Regions from separate parts of the Homo sapiens genome. Here region 2 is linked to region 1. The links are contacts of gene promoters, found by promoter capture Hi-C in human tissues and cell types (Jung and others, 2019). All regions are on one chromosome and are shown on one strand. Each heading gives the region's core, a stretch centred on a gene start or on the middle of the fragment in contact. The rest is flanking DNA. Distances are from core to core; before and after follow the strand shown. Region 1 holds the start of F10 (coagulation factor X). Region 2 overlaps CUL4A (cullin 4A).

Region 1 (2,700 bases), core at 200-2,699:
TGAAGGGCCTGGGCGCCCCCAAAGGCTACATGTTTCATATGGGACGTGCCACCTGCCACGGCTCAGCTCCAGCTTTCTGTGAGTGGCGAGATAGAATACGGGGAGGCCACTGGCCATGGGCCTGGGACAGGGTGGGATGAGGCGGCAGGCTTGGGCCACCAAAGCCAGCATCGCCACCCAGCATTGATGACAAAGACTGCGTGTCTGCCATGAGCATCCTGCTGTTGGTGCACACACCGCATTGGTCTCTCCATACAAACATGCCTAGAGGCGATGTCAGAGGGTGGAGACCAGGAGAGGCAGGAGTCAGACATCTGGTGCCACCAGGAAGGCCCTTCTCAGAGGACCAGGCTGTGCGTGGTGCCCGCCGTGGGAGGCCAGCCTGGCGTTGGCATCCAGCATCATCAGTTTGTGCAGTCGGGTGGGGCTCAGTGAGTGCCTCCTGTGTGCCAGGCACAATGACGCACAATGTGTGCACACCAGGCTCATGTGCAGGTGGCTGCGAGACAGGGCGACCCATCAAGGCAGATGCACCATGAGGCAGTGGCCAGTGCTGTGGGTGTTAGGGGCATTGCTCCCCGGCCACTACGGCATAGCAGGCAGTGATCGCCACACTGGCCAAGCTTTAGACCATTTATTCCAGAGACCCCAGAGGCAAAAAGCCCGGCTGCACCTCCCAGTGACTCCCACAGCCATTGAGCAGAGACACTCAGGACCTTGTGATGGGAGGTTTCTGCACTGGAGAACGAGCCCAGAAGCCCTCTCAGCCTCGGAACAGTGTGGCCAGTGGTGGGCAGGTCAGGAGGGGCTTCAGACACAGCCTGTCCCTCCAGATGGTCACGGGAAGGTCACTCCCCACAGAAGTACGTTTTGGGGCCATGCGGGCACAGAAGGTTTGGGGGTGGGTGGGGCAGGTGCCAGCCTGGCCTGTGGGAGGCCATGGTGCAGATGCCAAGCCCCCCCCGTGACATGAGACCACCTGATACCACCCAGAGAGTGGCTGTGAGCGGAAGGGCCCGCCCAGAAACAAGCAGGGCCTTGGGGCAGAAGTCCTGGGCTCAGATCCCACGCTCACTGCCAGCGGCCTCGGCTCAGGCTTCTGCGCTCTCTAAACTTAGTTTTCTCTTCTGGAAAAATGATGGGGAAAATGATATTTGTATGTGAGGACTGAGAGTTAAATGTAAACATCTGGAAACTACAAAATGAGCACGAAATGATGTTTTTATTCTTAGAACAGAAAGTCCCCACACCCGCGGCCCTGGTGACTGATGAGGATGAGGTTCTGCGGGGCCTCTCTGGCCGCCCAGCTCTGCCTGGGGAAGGTGGGGCCAGAGTGGATGTGTTCCCAGCGTGGTCACTCCCCTGCCTCGCCAGCAGGTCTCGGCTCCAATCAGGAGGCCTAAGCCAAGTGATAAGCAGCCAGACAACAGCCATCCCAGCTGGGGCGTGGACTTTGCTCCAGCAGCCTGTCCCAGTGAGGACAGGGACACAGTACTCGGCCACACCATGGGGCGCCCACTGCACCTCGTCCTGCTCAGTGCCTCCCTGGCTGGCCTCCTGCTGCTCGGGGAAAGTCGTAAGTGCCCCTCGCCCTTCAGACCCAAAAGCAGCGCCAGGGAGCAGGGAGGGGCGGCAGTTGGGGAAACCCTCTCATCTCTGCAGCCTGGACGGTGGGTGCCTTGAGTGCTGCCAGAGGCTGGGCTCGGATGGCTGGGCTTGGCCTTTCCAGCCAACGGCATCCTCAAGGCCAGCTGTGGCTCCCTGGGGCTGAGAGTCAGACGGGCGGATCAGAGGTCACAGAGACAAAAACACAAGGACAGAGTCAGAGAGAGAAAGGGAGAGGGAAGGAGAAACGGAGACACAGTGAGATGGGAGGCCAAGAGGCAGAGACAGAGGTAGAAAGACGGAGACAGAGAGAGAGGGAGGGGTTGGGGCAGGCAGAGACAGGACAGTTAGCCATCTGCCACCACAGGGAGGCACAGGACGAGGGGCACAGCAGAGGAGCTCCCAGGGAGGAGGAGGCTGAGCCGAGCCAGTGCCACCACTCTCGGACTGGCTCCGTCGGGGAAGGAGCTGCCTAATGCACAGCTGGACAGGTGGGGGCAGCAGGGCTGTCCAGGACCCCCGGGTCTGTCCAAAAGCAGAGGCCCAGACAGGACAGAAGCCAGGCAAGCCTGGGGACAGCGGAGGAAGAGGAGGCCCCTCTGGTGGGGACACGAGAGACAGGGACCCTAGACTTGTTTGCATCCTGGACAAAGTGGACAGGCAGGGGCACCAAGGGGACCCAGGCCTGGGAAGGGAATGTGTGAGGGAGAGACGGAGCAGGGGGAGACCCTCGTGGGGTGGAAAGGGGAGACCCCTGGGAAGGCTGAGTGGATCCTCAGTGCATCACTGACCTAAACGGCCCCTCCGCCTGGTGACTTGGAGCTCCAGTCACATCACACGGGGGTCTTCTCCATCCCACCCTCAACCCCCTGCCCTCCCCAGCCTCTGTCCCCTGAGCCACATCTTCCTGTCTCCCACGCGGAACGGGACTCCCGTCTTCATGGGGTACTGTGTGGCTCCAACTCGCCCAGCCTTCTTCCTCCCCCTCAGGCCACACTGCCCCCTGCAGGAGCCCACTGTGATGCTTGTGGTGGGATGAGATCAGCGTGGGTGGAACAAGGCCCTGGAAGGACCCATGCCATCATCATCGACAGC
Region 2 (2,700 bases), core at 181-2,680, 120 kb after region 1:
AAACTTTATTTCTTAACGGTCCAAATTTAGGATTTATTACTTAAACTTTCACTTTCATGTTTCGAAAGCATTTCTTTGGCATCCCTAACAAGCCCAGTCCAACCCGTCGTAGAGTGGCTTCTTGGGCAGTACCCTGAGTTTTCACATGTCCTGTGCAGGAGAACGGCCCTTTGGTGCTGACATAGGACCTCCCTGAAGACTAGGGGCTCTCGGCCCAGGGCACCACCCCACCAAGGGGACATTTGTTGATGTCTGGAGACATTTGTGGCTGTCTGAACAGAGAGGGTGCGGCTTGCTTTGCTGGGCAGCACCAGGGGTGCTGCTGAATGCACAAGGCAGCCCTCACCACAAAGAATCACCTGCCCAGAGGGCCAGAGTTGCCCAGCCCAAGAAACCTGCTGAAGACCCTCTAATGAGAAGCCATTCTCCAGATGCCCCTCACAGAAACAGGAGAACTGAGGCAGACATCAGGGCCCCTTCACAGATAGCTCGTGTTTTCAGGATGTGCCAGTTGCCTAGCATGAATTTTCCAGCTTAAATGGTGAACATTTAGCAAAAGTCTGTGTTTTTGCTTGCTGGTGACTATTCTTAAATCCCATAATGAAAAGATAAACAAAATTTCCAGAGAATTACACTAAGAGGAAAAAAAGAAAAGCCAATCACAGATACTTAACGTGTTATTGCATAACATTTTGGAAATGACAAAATTTAGAAATGGAGGATAGATGAAAAGTTACCAGGGTGTAGGGATGGGGCAGGGTGTGTGGTTATAAAAGGCCCCAGGAGGTAGCCTTCTGCGGGAACAGTCGGGGTTTCGGCCGAGGTCTAGATGTGCACACCCAGATGAGTTACGAGTAAACTGGGCCATGTGAAAAAGACGGGTGCGCTGCCATGTCAGTACCCCAGCTGAGACACTGTTGTGTAGTTTCGCAAACCGTTGCCATTGGAGGAAACTGTGGAAATAAAGACACTGGGATTGCTTTGCTATTTTTACTATTATGCAAATCTGTCATTATCTGAATAAAGATTTCCGTTAAATAAAAAAGATAAAGCTTACATGCTGCTTTATGGAATAATCAGACCTGAAGTCATGTATCAGTCCAGCTGTGGAAAGCCAGCACTCACAGCACCCCTCCCCACAAGGTCTCGTACAATGATAGAATTGGAACTTATAACTGAGTCACACTAAATTGGCCATAAAGCTACTGAAGATTTAGGTTTTTTGCCAGTGAGACAGTCTTCAGGGGATGGGAATGTGTGCTAAAAACTAGGAAAAGTTCACCTTTGCAGTTTCCAGTCTGGGTAATAAAAATCAGTGAGTGACCATCACCCCTGAGTGTCAGCAATAAGTAGTTATACTGTAACAAAATAGTAGTTTATATTCAACTCCACATGCCGTTATCAAAATAAAGCTGGGCCTTGTAGTGTATGTGCATTATTTCAAAATGCAGTTAGCACCAAAGGGTGTAGAGTAAGAGGTAAGTCCCTCCCACACCTGCTAGCCACACACCGCCCCTCTCTGGGAGAGTCTGTGCCCTTTCTGTTGGCATCTTTTTTTTTTTTTTTTTTTTTGAGGTGGAGTCTCACTCTGTCATCCAGGCTGGAGTGTAGTGGCGTGATCTCAGCTCACTGCAACCTCTGCCTCCTGGGTTCAAGCAGTTCCCTGCCTCAGCCTCCTGAGTAGCTGGGATTACAGGCTCCCGCCACCACACCTGGCCAATTTTTGTATTTTTAGTAGAGATGGGGTTTCACCATATTGTCCAAGCTGGTCTTGGAACTCCAGACCTTGTGATCCACCCGCCTTAGCCTCCCAAAGTGCTGGGATTACAAGCGTGAGCCACTGCGCCCAGCCTTCTCTTGGCATCTTTCCACCAGCCAGCTACCTCGCGTGTGTGTGTGATGTGTGAGTGCACATGTGCATTCTATTGAGACGAATTTTTTAAATCCAATCATTGTATTCAGTTCCTCTTCGGCATATATAGTTTATATCATCAAATGTTAACTGTTTATTAGTGCCCTACACAGACTTTTAGGAATGTTTAATATAACAGTTTTAAATTAAAAATACAAACTAGGCTAGGCACAGTGGCTCACGCTTGTAATCCCACCACTTTGGGAGGCCAAGGCAGGCAGATCATGAAGTCAAGAGATCAAGACCATCCTGGCCAACATGGTGAAACCCCGTCTCTAGCTGGGCGTGGTGGTGTGCACCTGTAGTCCCAGCTACATGGGAGGCGGAGGTTGCAGTGAGCCGAGATCACGCCACTGCACTCCAGCCTGGTGACAAAGCGAGAGTCCATCTCAAAACAAAAAAAAAAAAGTACAAACTAAAAAAGTGAGCTTTTCATGGTTAGAAGTGATGGAGAAGGAAAACTAGCCAAGAAGTCCCAAGAGGTATATTGAATTAATAGGAATTAACTTGTCTTGGAGGAACTTACACATAAACATTCTTTAAAAAGCAACGGACATTTTCCAGTCGTTTGTAAGTTCTCTCAGAAACAGAATCGTAAGACCAATGCATTAATTGTGTATTTAATTGTATATTCACACCAAGCACAGGGGCTCATGCCTGTAAACCCAGCACTTTGGGAAATCACAGTGGGAGGATTGCTTGAGGCCAGGAGTTCGAGACCAGCCTGGGCAACATGACCCCGTCTCTACAAAACTTTAAAAAGATGGGCCAGATGTGGTGGCCTGAGC

The links. Contacts are between HindIII fragments. The study calls those that stand out against the background at their distance.
Region 2: a fragment that was not itself captured here is called in contact with the fragment with the promoter of F10 in region 1 in 2 of the 25 tissues and cell types used here (dorsolateral prefrontal cortex and spleen).

Annotation. Positions count from the first base shown.
Region 1 is chr13:113,121,350-113,124,049 of GRCh38, forward strand. It overlaps F10 (coagulation factor X), which reads left to right and starts at 1,450. Exons shown (of 8, transcript NM_000504.4): 1 at 1,450-1,576. The coding sequence starts at 1,507. The HindIII fragment of the contact is 14,274 bases long and covers 1-2,700 here.
Region 2 is chr13:113,239,961-113,242,660 of GRCh38, forward strand. All of the region lies in intron 10 of CUL4A (cullin 4A), which reads left to right. Among named protein-coding and RNA genes, the nearest start is that of MIR8075, 22 kb to the right of the region's middle. The HindIII fragment of the contact is 5,276 bases long and covers 1-2,700 here.